5 separate regions of the Homo sapiens genome follow, and all the other regions are linked to region 2. Evidence: promoter capture Hi-C in 16 types of primary human blood cells and fetal thymus (Javierre and others, 2016). All regions are on one chromosome and are shown on one strand. The core of a region is centred on a gene start or on the middle of the fragment in contact, and the rest is flanking DNA. Distances in the headings are between cores, read along the strand shown. Region 1 overlaps PAX6-AS1 (PAX6 antisense RNA 1). Region 2 holds the start of IMMP1L (inner mitochondrial membrane peptidase subunit 1). Region 3 overlaps PAX6-AS1 (PAX6 antisense RNA 1). Region 4 overlaps LOC124902657 (a long non-coding RNA gene). Region 5 overlaps ELP4 (elongator acetyltransferase complex subunit 4).

What was found. Contacts are between HindIII fragments. The CHiCAGO score rates a contact against its expected background, and 5 or more counts as called.
Region 1: a fragment that was not itself captured here is called in contact with the fragment with the promoter of IMMP1L in region 2 in 1 of 17 cell types (endothelial precursors); the score reaches 5.9 in endothelial precursors.
Region 3: a contact is called between a fragment that was not itself captured here and the fragment with the promoter of IMMP1L in region 2, in 1 of 17 cell types (endothelial precursors). The highest score is 5.2, in endothelial precursors.
Region 4: a contact is called between a fragment that was not itself captured here and the fragment with the promoter of IMMP1L in region 2, in 2 of 17 cell types (total CD4 T cells and total CD8 T cells). The highest score is 5.6, in total CD4 T cells.
Region 5: a fragment that was not itself captured here is called in contact with the fragment with the promoter of IMMP1L in region 2 in 1 of 17 cell types (endothelial precursors); the score reaches 5.1 in endothelial precursors.

The regions. Positions count from the first base shown.
Region 1 is chr11:31,863,168-31,865,867 of GRCh38, forward strand. The region is part of intron 1 of PAX6-AS1 (PAX6 antisense RNA 1); the gene reads left to right. Among named protein-coding and RNA genes, the nearest start is that of PAUPAR, 38 kb to the left of the region's middle. The HindIII fragment of the contact is 1,252 bases long and covers 808-2,059 here.
Region 2 is chr11:31,508,322-31,511,021 of GRCh38, forward strand. It overlaps IMMP1L (inner mitochondrial membrane peptidase subunit 1), which reads right to left and starts at 1,301. Exons shown (of 6, transcript NM_001304274.2): 1 at 1,198-1,301. It overlaps ELP4 (elongator acetyltransferase complex subunit 4), which reads left to right and starts at 1,446. Exons shown (of 10, transcript NM_019040.5): 1 at 1,446-1,686. The coding sequence starts at 1,464. RefSeq lists enhancers at 1,439-2,328, 1,461-1,750. The HindIII fragment of the contact is 1,748 bases long and covers 787-2,534 here.
Region 3 is chr11:31,840,217-31,842,916 of GRCh38, forward strand. The region is part of intron 1 of PAX6-AS1 (PAX6 antisense RNA 1); the gene reads left to right. Among named protein-coding and RNA genes, the nearest start is that of PAUPAR, 15 kb to the left of the region's middle. The HindIII fragment of the contact is 1,581 bases long and covers 546-2,126 here.
Region 4 is chr11:32,000,153-32,002,852 of GRCh38, forward strand. LOC124902657 (a long non-coding RNA gene) reads left to right here. Exons shown (of 2, transcript XR_007062644.1): 2 at 1,054-2,253. Among named protein-coding and RNA genes, the nearest start is that of LINC03031, 40 kb to the right of the region's middle. The HindIII fragment of the contact is 6,759 bases long and covers 1-2,700 here.
Region 5 is chr11:31,778,077-31,780,776 of GRCh38, forward strand. The region is part of intron 9 of ELP4 (elongator acetyltransferase complex subunit 4); the gene reads left to right. Among named protein-coding and RNA genes, the nearest start is that of ELP4-AS1, 12 kb to the left of the region's middle. RefSeq lists an enhancer at 1,163-2,362. The HindIII fragment of the contact is 2,883 bases long and covers 10-2,700 here.

The DNA of each region.
Region 1 (2,700 bases), core at 184-2,683, 350 kb after region 2:
GATCAAGCAATCCTACCACCTCAGCCTCATGAGTAGCTGGACTACAGGTGTGCACCACCAAGCCCGGCTAATTTTTGTATTTTTTTGTAGAGATGAAGTTTCGGCATGTTTCCCAGGCTGGTCTCAAACTCCTGGACTCAAGCGATCCACCCGCCTCAGCCTCCCAAAGTGCTGGGATTAATGGTGTGAGTCACTGAGCCCAGCCTGCCACTGTTACTTTGGCTTTTGTAGGAGCCAACTAACTGGTATTCTAACTAGCACAGGTATCATTGTTGATTCTCTGGCAGACATATTTCAGAATTCCAAGAGACCAGATTTGTAGTGTTCTACAGGAAGCTGTGCTTTTGTTTGCATTGACATTCCTTTTGCTTATTCCACAGCAGACATGGAAGCAAGACACAGGTCCAGGATAGGGCGGGAAAGTGGCTTTCTCAGTGACATTTCAGTGTGAATGAGACTGACCCAGGGAGTTTGTTAAAATGCAGATTACTTAGCTCTCTCCTTTGGGATGTGAATTTGACAATTCTGGCCTGACCCAGAGAATCAGCATTTGAAAAGTATTCCACGTCATTCTGATGGCAGCCCTTGGGCCACACTGAAAAAAAAACTCTGGTCTATAAGTGGAGCCCTTCAATATGCGGGACTCCTGGGAAATACTTCAGTGAATTAACTCAGGAAGATTCTTAACTGCTACAGAGATGCTGTTGATGGTGGTGTTTAGCAGTCTAGGAACAGCGCCTTGGAAATGAATACTTGGAAATATTTGATGGGACACTCAGTGAAATGCAGACATTTGGAAAGTTACAAAGCTTTACTCTGGATGGCCTGTAAATACCACACACATGCACTAATTAGATAACCAGACATAATTAAACTATTTGGAGACATGATTGAAAAGTAAATATTTTAAGGGACAAGAGGGCAAATTTTAAACACTCCATTCTTCACGCTCATTTCTTTAGTTCACAATGTTGACTGAGAAGTCGGGGTAATTACAAGTGGTAATAATGCTTGATAATTACATATTTGCCTCTGTTTACATTGGACATGAAATTAGGAAACTCACTTCCTAAGTGAACCCTTGTGAGCATCCTTTCACAGAGAGTGAAGTTCATATCACAATCAAAGCAATAAGAGGGAGTAATTGTGACACTAACCACAGGAGGAAAACAATCAGGGATAAACTTTCAGCCCAAAGGAGTGAGATGGGGACTGAAGAGAGGATAAAAGTGCCAACCAGCCAACCAGATAAATAATAACATTTTTTTTGAGTATCTACATTGTGCAAGGGCCCTGTGCTAGGAACTATGTGGGGGTGGGGCAGGGTCAGAGAGACACTGAAGATGGAGAAACTTAAAATGTACCTGGGAGCCAGGACGCATCTGAACGCAAAGTTCCACTGTAAGCGATGTGGGAGTAGTGCCAAATCAGCACTTCAGGGACTCCAAAGATGGAGACGCTGGAGAGGGTGCAGACAGTCAGGAGGAGCTTCTTCAAGTAGGAAGTCAATCAACACTTATGAGCCGTTGTTGGTGTTGGGGATGCAAAGATGGCCAGGAAGGAGTCCCTCTCCTCAAGGGGCTTCCATTCTGGTGGAGGGAGACCGATCTCAGAATACTATTACTGGATAGAAATATTGAATTTGTTAATCAATAATAGTAATAATTGATTGCTGTTATTGTATATTGTTGGCCAGTTGGGGTGGCTCACATCTGTAATCCCAGCACTTTTGGGAGGTGGGAGGATTGCTTGAGGCCAAGAGTTGGAGACCAGCCTGGGCACCATAGCAAGACCCTGTCCCTACAAAAAATTTAAAAATTAGCTGGGCATGGTGGTGTGTGTCTGTAGTCCTACTACTTGGGAAGCTGAAGAGGGAGGATCACTTGAGCTCAGGATAGGAGTTCCAGGCTGCAGTGAGCTGTGATGGTGCCACTAAACTCTAGCCTGGGCAACAGAGGGAGACCCTGTCTCATGCATATGTGTGCGTGTGTGTATAGTTAATCACAGATAATCAATCCATATATCAGATATTTTCTGATATGGATAAGAGCTACAAAAAAGCTTTGATAAGATAAAATGGTGGAAGTGAGTGGAGCTGAGTGGGGTCAGATGGTGGTCCCAAAAGGCCTCTCTGAAGAGATGAGGGAGTCTGAGGCTTGACCCTAACCAGGAGAAAATGGCAGGTGTTGGGTAGCTAGGGAAAGCATTTGCAGGCTCAGTGTGCCCTCTAGATAGTGAGGAGGCCAGCATGGCTGCAGAGTGGTGAGGGAGGGGACAGTGGTGGAGAAGGGACTGGAGAATAGCTAGGGCCTGGAGGCTGGGGAAGGAATTTCAGGGTTTATTCTAAGGATGCAGGCTATTGTGGAGGGTCTTGGGGCAGGAGTGACATGATATAATTTGTGTGTTTAAAAAGAAACCATTCTGGCAGCTGTGAGGCAGTAAGCCCTGGGGCTCAGGCATGGAGCTGGAAGATCAGCAAGGGGCTGTTTTGGTGGCTCAGGGTGGGCCTGGAAGGATGTAACTAGGTGGATGTAACTAGGTGAGGCTAAGGGGAGCACGCCACAGGGTGGGGACCCAGAGCATGAGCATTGAGGACAGGAGCCAGCAGGGTGTGTGGGGAAACTGAGGCCACCAGTCAGATAGGGGTGGCAGGGGGCGAGAAGAGAAGGCAACAGGCGAAGATGGGCAGTGCCCTCTTGT
Region 2 (2,700 bases), core at 51-2,550:
TTATCTCCTCCAGGTGAGACCATTTTTATTACCATAGGTCTAAAATGACAAGATTAAGTCCAAACAGACAGTAATCACTCAACAGCTATTTATTGAGTAACTTAAAGATTCAATATGAAAGCAACCTTGATCAAAGCTTTCCAGTTGATATATTGTGAAACAGGGTTTTTTCCTAAACATGATTCTAAAAAACAAGCAAACAAACAAAAATCCTCCCCAAATGAAAAACTCCAGTCACTATTTAGCAATACTAATTTCAATTTATCAAACAGAATCAGCCCAAAAATTTCAACAGGTCAGTGAGATTTAAAACAATTCGATGGCAAGAATTTCAATGAGGTTTGGCTCTAATTAAAAGGTATCACAGATCACTGTCAAAGTCAATAACTCAGTAGTGCGGTAATGATTTGGGAGTCCTTTTCAATTTAGACATTTGTCAATCATGATTGCCTTTAAACATCAGTTACCCACTGTCCCTGCTCAGTTTTGAAAAAAAAATTAAATACAAAAATACAACTCAAAATACATGTTTTTTCCACACATAAAATTGGTATTTTAGTAATAAACTCTCGATTCAGGGTTCATAAAATAAAGTAGGTATACTTCTAATTCTTCCTAGCAGTTTTTTGGGGGAAAGAAACCCTAAGTATTTTCTGTTATTTGCAGCTGCTTTAACAGCAAACGACAATTAAATGTGTGAACAAGGTTGTCAGAGTAACACTTGTCATTTACACCGCTTAGGAAAGACATCCAAGACTTCCAGAAACACTAATTAAAATTAACAAAAGCTTCTTATCGGAACTTGTCAGAGAGCTATAGTTTGTCAGACACAGGAAAACCAGATAGCCTCAAAGTTCAAGAGTTTTCGCTCTAAGGTTTAATTCCAAACCACCTACCACTAGGCACTAACGAACTAAGCCCAGACGCTCAGCAACCAACTCATTAAGGTAAGAGATCCCATCCTTTCCATATAACACAAAATTAAGAAAAAGACATCGTGGGGAAGGCGGAGTGAATTTTCTATCAGAAATCAGAAGATAAATGAGCAGGAAAAAAGTCTATCCTCACACACAGCGGAGAAAGGTGCTAGCAATTGCTTGATAAGCCCTAAGGGTTTATTGTTTCACCAACCTTTTCTTTAACTCAATGTGAATGAAGGCACTCAAAAGGAGAAGAACGTTACGTGATATTACCTACCTCGGGCCCCAAAGAACCCTGGAGACCCTCAACCAGGACACAGGTGGGCCTTTCTCACCTGGGCCCCGCCGAAGTCGACCGTCCTTTCGTAGGGCGCACTTTTCAGCAATACGCCTTCCGATTGGTTGGCTCGGGACTGACGTCTCAGTCCTATTGGTTACGAGAGCCGCGGTTGGGGCGAGGAGGCGGGAGTTTGGCACTGGTTCTGATAGGACGGGTGTTTGCGTTCCCAGAGTTCCTATTGGGTTAACACTGGAGGCTCTAAGATGGCGGCAGTGGCAACCTGCGGTAGTGTTGCCGCGAGTACTGGGTCTGCAGTGGCGACAGCCAGCAAGAGCAACGTCACCAGTTTCCAGAGGAGGGGTCCTAGAGCCAGCGTGACCAACGACAGCGGCCCTCGACTGGTGTCCATTGCGGGCACGCGACCGTCGGTGCGGAATGGACAGCTGCTGGTATCAACCGGGCTCCCAGCCCTAGACCAGCTCTTAGGTCGGTTCAGAGCGGAGATCTGGGCTCAGCCGAGGGGAAACTTAGGGAGGGGACCTGTCGGGGAAGCCACTTTGACCCCACATCTCTTTCTGACCCCTAAACCTTCGGAGGAGGAGAGAATAGCCTGGTCTGATTGAGATGGAGGGGAATACGGGTTGTGTGGAGACTTCTGAGCGCTGTTAACTAAACATGTTTTAGTGCCCTCGCTCTCTATTTCATTCCCTGCCCTCCAACCCCTTTTCATATTACGGAGGAATTCGTACATGCTTTTTACCCTGAAATGCTTTCTAGTCAAGGGAAGACATTAATTTATGGAGATGGTTTGGCTTTCATTCAGGATACCTCCCTTCTGCTTTCTCCAGGCAGCTCACGGTTTAGACCAGCCTGCAAAAGTTTTTATAATTGTGAGAGACAGACTTCATTAGAAGATGCTGGAAAAAAATGATTTCCCCTCTTTGACCGTCAGACTGCCTGTTCTCTGGTTCTAAATCTTAAAACATTTTGGCTTTAAGAGAGCGAATGTTAAAGGCTTATGTTGACACATAATCCTTATAAAGTATTTTGAGCCTGTCGTTGATATTTAGATAGTGTCTGCGTTAAATCTGTGTATATATTTTTTATTTTTTCTATATACATTTTGCTTCCCAGTATTGATTGCTGCTACATTCCATACGACATCTTTAAATTTAACTCACATTTTAACGAGAAAAGTCTAGTTCTTAGGCTTTCCTTTAAAATCTCTGGAATTTTTTATGAGAAGCCTGCTGAAGAATATGCTTGTTTCATAACTGTTATATTCAAAGGAATGACCAGATTAAGTTGGTAGGACAGATTTGCTGTGTTAATAAAGCTTCTAGATTAATTTCTGAATGCTGTTTCATTAAAACCCCGTCTGTGTTTACATAACTTTTTTCATAGTGTGTGATATGTGTCTGTTAAATCTTGTACACTTTCATAAAATATAACTCATTGCTTGTTCTTGTACTTCGTTTGACATTTCTTTCGGTTATTTTC
Region 3 (2,700 bases), core at 86-2,585, 330 kb after region 2:
TGTTCTGTTTCTACAACTTTTCATGAACTGAAGTGGATCTCCCAGCTCCTTGTGTGAAGCAGAAAACTGTAGTTCATCAAAAATAATTGGGTCAGAGAAGTGGTGGTTCACATTCCCAAATATGTACATCTGGATTAGGGTTTTAACCTCAGAACAGAAGGTGATGGGCATTGAAATTTTGGTATATCCGGGGTTTTGGTACTGAAAACTTCAGTTGAATATTGGGGTCAAAATCCACCCTGTTCGTATAGACTTAGAAGTGGCCCTGAAGTTCATTGTCTTAAATGGTTGCTAAGGGGATGATTATAGGGATTTTCCCACACTTGGAGAAGAGTCATCCTGGAGCACTGGGATAAATATAGAGTGAGGGAAAGTGTGTTTCCTTTTAAAATTAGAAATACAATATAACAACATTGGAGGGAGTTTAGAAATAGAGGGGTATCTTCACCTATAATCACCACCCTAACAAAACAGCCCTGAATGTTTATGTAATCCTTCGACTTCTTGGCAATTTGCTTTCATATTTTTACTCCACTGTAACTACAAGCTTTTCTTATTTTACATTTCAGTTTTGCTAATTATTATTTTAAATGGCTGCATATTAGTCCCTTGAGTGGTGGCATTATAATTTGCCCACTTATTTTCCCATTCTCAGACATTTCAGGTTACTTCCAATTTCTTACTATTAGAGAAAAAAGTATTTTTAATCTCTAGGCTGATAAAAGGCTTCAGTCCACACTTTAGTTTTTTCTTTCTTCTTTCTTTCCTTTCTTTCTTTCTTTCTTTCTTTCTTTCTTTCTTTCTTTCTTTCTTTCCTTTCTTTCTTTCTTTGACAAGGTCTGCCTCTATTGCTTAGGCTTGACTGCAGTGGTGTGATCTCAGCTCATTGCAACCTCTGCGTCCCCGGCTCAAGCCTTCCTGCCACCTCAACCTCCCAAGTAGCTGGGACTACAGGTGTGCACCACCATGCCTGGCTAATTTTCTGTATTTTTTGTGAAGATGAGGTTTCATCATGTTGCCCAGGCTGGTCTCGAACTCATGAGCTCAAGCAATCCTTCTGCCTCAGCCTTCCAAAGTGCTGGGATTACAGGTGTGAGCCACTGCACTCAGCCTAGTTTTTTCTTATTAAAGTAAATTACTCTGTCACATGGCTTCCCTCTGTCAGCAGAGAAACCTATTTCTCTATTTTACTAGCACTAAAGGCAATAGTATTTATTGCAAAGTGTGTGGGATAGTGTGTGACAAATAATGAGGGCTATGTCAATGTAAGTTATTATTATAACTAGGATTCCTGGTCACCAATACCAGAAAAAGACCTGTAGATAAAGAACCTATTGAGAAGATACTGGATCACCCACAGAGAATTAGTATCAACGAATATGGAGCAGCCAAGCGGGGCTGGCAGCAGAACTGTAGCCTAAATCGTGCCATAGGACTTGTCTGGTTTCTGGACACCTCTGCTGAAACTGCTACCACCAATGTCCCTGGACTGGATTGACAGTACTCCATCCCCACCAGGAAGAATTCTACCCCTTGTGTTTTTTCATTATCTACTTAAGATTCAAGATAGCTGAATCTAAGTTATGTTCCTAATTCTTATGCATCTATAGTGGGAGATAGGGCTCTGCGTCCCACCAGGACTCTGACAGTGGGGAGAACACCCTCAAAGGGGAAGGTTGTTCAAGTTCCGGGGGGTCAAGTGGTAAATATCTTCACTTGCTCAGACTGCCTCTCACCTACAATATAGCTCAGTCAATAAAGGAGATTTCTACTCTACTGATTGCCTGAAGGTAAAAGAGCTTTTGGGATAAGCAGCAGGTTGAATCTTTGTTATCGAAGGGCTCTTTTTGAGGGGGAAAAATGGCAACAGAAGGGAGGTTCCCTGCACCAGCAAAAATGCCCATGAGAAGCCTTCTGTTGCCATTTTTCCCCTTCAAAAAGAGTCCTTGGATAACAAAGGTTCAACTTGAACTATGACTTATATCAATGATGGGGTTACTTTGTTTCCTGGGGTATTAGATCCCGGTACAATTAGTTAAATGTCTCCTCCCCTCCCCACCTCTAAAATAAGAACTGAAAGCAGAGACGAAGTCAGAGTAGAAAATAAATGACATGTTTCTTATGAAAGCTTACTAACAATTAGGAAAAAATTTTTTTCTTTTTTTTGAGACGGAGTCTCGCTGTCACCCAAGCTGGAGTGCAGTGGCACCATCTCGGCTCACTTCAACCTCCGCCTCCCAGGTTCAAGCGATTCTCCTGCCTCAGCCTCCCGAGCAGCTGGGACTACAGGCATACACCACCACACCCAGCTAATTTTGTATTTTTAGTAGAGAAGGCGTTTCACCATATGAGCTATGCTGGTCTCGAACTCCTGACCTTGTGATCCGCCTGCCTCGGCCTCCCAAAGTGCTGGGATTACAGGCATGAGCCACCACGCCCAGCCAACAATTAGGAAATTTGACCCACTCCCGAACTTGAACAGTACTGTACTGACTCAGAGCTCTAGCAAATATACAAATTAAGAGGAATAGACTGCAACACAGTTACATAATTTACTTAAAACTCTCTCAGTGGCTTCTCGTTAGTTTAGAACAAAATCCCATATCGTTCTTCCTGACCTATCAGACCCTACATGTTCTAGCCCTGGCCTTTCTATCCAGATCCTGTTTAATACCCTCTAACCCCAGTTCTTGGCTTTCT
Region 4 (2,700 bases), core at 71-2,570, 490 kb after region 2:
CCTGAGTAGCTGGGACTACAGGCGTGCACTAATTTTTGTGTTTTTGGTAGAGACAGCATTTCTTCATGTTGGCCAGGCTGGTCTTGATCTCCTGACCTTGTGATCTGCCTGCCTCGGCCTCCCGAAGTGCTGGGATTACAGGCGTGAACCACTGCGCCAAGCCTCAAGTGCTATTTTAAAAGATGGTGGTGGTTTGGGGGAGGATTGAAAACATTTATCTACACAGCTAAAGGAGCTGGCAAAGAATAAAGCTATGGTTCTGGATCCGGTTCCCCAAGGGGCACTTAACTGCCTGTCTCTGGGTTAATGCATGCGGGGCACACACAGTGCCTCTGCTAGAAACGATGCAAGCTGAGATTCTCTAGGCTGTTTTGCAAAGACTCTCCATGTCTCTGTTTTGGAATATGTTTGTATCACAGGCTTGGTTCTAGCCGAGAGGCTGTGTAGAAGCGGGTGAATTTGACTTAGATGTTGCCCAATGTTCCAAGGGATCTTTGGCTCTTGGCCCCCAGAACAGAATCAGATAAGCCCACTCATAAGCAACTTTGAGAGAGTCCAAGTCTATGCCTTCAAAGGGTAAGGAGCTGTTTCAGGGAAAGAAGGAACCTAGGCCAGGCACAGTGGCTCACGCCTGTAATCCCAGTGCTTTGGGAGGCCAAAGCGGGCTGATCAAGACGTCAGGAGTTCAAGACCAGCTTGGCCAACATGATGAAACTCTGTCTCTACTAAAAATACAAAAAATTAGCCGGGTGTGGTGGCAGGCACCTGTAATCCCAGCTACTTGGGAGGCTGAGGCAGGGGAACTGGTTGAACCCGGGAGGCGGAGGTTTCAGTGAGCCAAGGCATTTCAAAAAAAAAAAGGAAACTAAAGGATTTGCCAGTTGGGACAAAATGATGTCTGAGCAGCCTGTCGGGATTAGAAGCACTTCCTAGAAGTCCTGGAACCCCGGACTTACTCCTCATCCCCACCCCATCACTTAGACACTAGGCAGGAAATATCCAGTTGGATGCCAAAGTGACCCAATTGTCCCTCCTCAATTGTCTCTCTAAAAGCCAAGCAAGATGAGGGGAACGGCTTTGGACTCGGGCTGACTTGGACCACATCCCATCTCTGCCGCCATCTGAGCTCTGTGACCGTGAAGTGCTCCTACCACCCTTCTGAGCTTTTGTTTTCTTCACCTGTAAAAGTGCAGGAAGAATACTTACCTGTCACCAGAATATTCCAAGAATTAGAATTAATGTTTGGAAAGTTGTTGACACCTAGCAGGTACTCAAAAAATGGTGGCTATTACTACTACATTCTACAGTCTCTGCGCTACTTTGAAAGGACTTGCTTCTAGGGGAGCTTATTTCTAATGGGGAGATATTTTGGTTTTGAAGTAAAATCTATACCGTGTTAGATGGGAGGTGTGCTTTAGAGAAAAAATAAAGCAGGGATGGGAGACTGAGATGGCTGGGGAGCCTGAGGAAAGCCCCATTTATAGGTCTAAGAATGAGAGAGAGTTTCTTTCTTAAATTCCCTCTCCCTACTTTATCAAAGAGATTTTACTTCCAAATAAGTGTAAACGGGAAAAGGGAACAGAGCCTGAAAGACACTCAAAACAGACACTCAAAAATGCTGTCCTAGGGAGTCAGCTGGGGTGTCATCACTGACGTGGGACTTAGGGTGTTGAGCTGGAGTCCTGGTTTGTCATTTGAAAAGAGAAATCCTGATCAAGTTGTTGTACTGCTCTTTGACTCTATTTCCTTAACTGTAAATTAGAGGTAAGAATCCCTGTCTCACGTGCACGAGCAGGAGAGGCTTTCTGGTCTGTTGGGATTCTCAGATTCACAAGGATCAGGACGTGGCCATTGAAAGCTGCCATCCCAAGAGGCAAAACTATGGAAGATAGGAAGGAAATCCGTACTTACCTCACTCTGCTCCCTCCTCCTTTCCGTGCCTGCGTGCACACACACACGCATGCACACACCCTGAGGTTGTCAGGGGACTAGAGGTGTTGTCCTTGAAAGTGAAAGTCATTCCAAGGCAAAGGAAATGTACTGGTGTTGAGAAGGTTCGGTAGGGCCCCTTCCAACGGGAATGGCTGACTCGCCATGTCCTCTAAAGATGCTGCCTTGATTCGTGGATTTCAGCATTGTCCAAGCTCTGTGGCACCATGGACTGGTTGTATGTCACTGACAAGCAAATGCTTAGTCCTGTGCTGTATATATTTACTGTACCATATAAATAATAAACACTAATAACTCACTTCATCCTTTACGAGTTCCCCATCCATTTCCTGCCATTTCTGGAACTTTCATCACATGCTAGATGGTGTTGCTGACGTTTATTACTGGTTGCTCATATAGGGTGAGAAATCATTGTTGCCTCATGAATAGCTAGCATTTTTTTCCTCTTTCATTGAAAAGTTATTCTAACTCAATCTAAATTTCCAACAACCAGGAAGTATTTAAATAAGTCATCTTCCAACCATCTCATGAAATTACATAACCACTAAGAATCATGATTTTAAAAGCTATTCAACAATACAGGGAGAAAAATGCTCACATCACAATATTAGGTAAAAAAAGCAATGCAGAAAATCATCTATCCAGCGTGATCCGATTTTGCCCATACATTTATATGTAGATTTATGTGGGCACATTAAAAGACGTGGCAAAAAATGTTATTTCTGCGTGAGATGGTGGTGGGTGATTTTT
Region 5 (2,700 bases), core at 201-2,700, 270 kb after region 2:
GAGTGGGAAAGCTTCATCTTCTGACATTTCCTTTATTAGTTATTTTGCCAGCAGTGAAGACATGTGCAAAATACAGGTTTTAAAAATAAAATGCACCCTAAATTGCCTCCTTAATACAGCCATGCATGTATACACTGGCCCAGAAGCCAGGCATCTTACATACCCCACTTTCACTCCTACCTTACTCAGTATGAGGGAAAGTATTTAGACTTTTAAAACCTCAGAAGCAGGGACTGCAGTTGCACTTTGCTTTATATGTCTGTAAGGAGCCGCAGTAGAGAGTAATTATACTAAATACTCAGATTCCAGGCAGACTGAGACCTGGTGGCTAAGTCTGATGTGCTGTTGCTATTGTTTATATTTGTTCGTTATATTTGTAGATTGATTTCCTTGACCTAATAAACTCACTTGTTTTTGTCTTGTTATACCATATGTACTTTTATGAACCACCTCAGATCCATTTTTGAAGCAAGAAGAGATAAATAAATTAGTGTAGAACTTGATAGTTCACAAAACACTTACACATCTCATTTTATTCTGACGAGAGTCTTATGAGGGAAGAATCATTCCCCCATGATAGATGAGGACACTGAGGCTTAACCAGCTGAATTGACTTTTCTGAGGTTACGTGGAGAGTGAATGACAGAGGCAGGTATCAAACTGTCACTCTCTGCCTCTGTGTCCAGTGCCCACAAGTCCTGGCCACCTCTGTTAAGGGACCAATGTAGAACCTGTGTGTTCTAAGGTATTTATAAGTTGTTGTTTTTTGTTTTTGTTTGTTTGTTTTTTGAGACAGTTACTAAAGTTTTAAAGGTTTTTTTGTAGAGATGAGGTCTCACTGTATTTTATTGTCCAGGCTGGTCTTGAACTCCCAGGCTCCCACTTCGGCCTCCCAGAGTGTGGGGATTACAGGTGTGAGCTACCCCGTGCCTGGCAAGTTTTCATTTAAATTGGCAATGTTTTAAAGAAAAATGAAAAAATCTATTAGGAGTATTCTGAAATGTTAATGCTTATTTCTGTGATCCTGAGCAATACAAATTGTGACTTTTCAGGAAATGTCAGAAATTTTTAAAAGGTTTAAAATAAATCTTTAGTCATCTGCTAAGGGTCAAAGTATACTACATCAGTTGTTTTCAGAAAACAAACAGTGCCTGATGGTTTGGTCTTGGCAAAATGTGAAAAATATAAACTGATTAAACTTATTTTAATGAGTATTTACCTGCAATTTGTCTCAAATCCAGGTGTAATCGAGATTCATTATCTTGCCCCTTCTGTCTGGGAACTGTGAGCACTGAGCACAGGCCTGGCAGGCTGGGAGAAACGGAATTAGGAAGGGAACTGTTGAGCCAGGAATTCCAATCTTATGTGTCTATAGGATCAATTTAGCTGCTGACTCAGAAGGAACAAAATATAGACAGTGGCTAAGCCCAACAAAGAGACGGAGAGGCAAGTAGAGGGGAAAGAATCTCAAAGTCCAGCTCTCCTCGGTACCTCTTGGAGCCTCAGAGCAAATCACTTCTGCTGCTGCTGCCTTATTATGACCCTGGGCTTCCCATGGGCCTAAGGGTGCCTTTTGGCAGGAGTCTCCATAATCTGCCAGAGTGTTTTGCTAGCCTCACTGTTTCCCTCCTTGCAGCGTTGATCCAGTGGGATTACAGCAAATCACCCTGGCCTGTGCAGGAACCGTGGAAGTTGTCACACCTTTCCCAGATCCGTTTGCCTACACAGAAATCATTGTTTTAGACAAGGCATTAATGGAAAAAGTAGGCAGCCAGCCAGCCAGCCAGCTATCCATCTCCTGCATCACACAGTCTCTTCCTCCCAGAATCTGAGAAAAGAAAATCAAGTGGAAAAATTTCAGCTCAAGAAGTAAGATATGGTTTTGGTTTTGGCCCTTGCTTCAGAACCCCAGGTATAAAATGAGAAATATGAATACCTTGATTTGGTTTTCAAGGTTGAGAATAATATGATTTTTTTGTGGTCTGATTTTTCTTTAAACCATTACTCAGTGAAACCTCAATGTCTAAAAGTTTATATACCCTACAGCCCTGTAGTTTTAAGTCTAAAGGAGGTCACCATGCTATGCAGAGTATCTTGCAGCATTTTTTTTCAGAAGACAGATCTGGGATACAGCAGCATCTGAACATTTACATGTCAAGTGTGTAAATGCTTTGGAAGCCTCAAAGGAAAAATCCCTGACACACCTGGCATGCCTGGAACCTGATCTCTCGTTCTTCCTCGCTGTTTCACATCGCACTGACATGGCGCACAGGGGGAGGCTCAGAAAGAAAGAAAACAAAACCCACTGCTTGAGAATTTAGATTGCATAGTAAGCTCATTCAAGTAATAATCAACAAAAGCAGGCAAAATCACACATAGATTCACATATTTCCAAGAGCCATCCTTGGGCATTTTCAAAGGGCATGAATATACAACTAGCTTTACAATGTAGCATTTGGTTAAAAGCAGTTAATCATATTACCCCTAAATTTTTATGCTCAGAAGTCTCACACGAATGATATTTGACTTTACTTCAAAGCCATTCAACCTGAAAGATTTCCAAGCATGTCACATGTCACATTTAGCTACTTTTTCTCTGAAGGGCTTTCGGCCAACTGGCTCACCACATTCATTGCCTAGAAAAGCAGAGGCCAAGAAATGCTGAGCCAGTCCACAAGCAAATAGGTAGGCTCCTGAAAT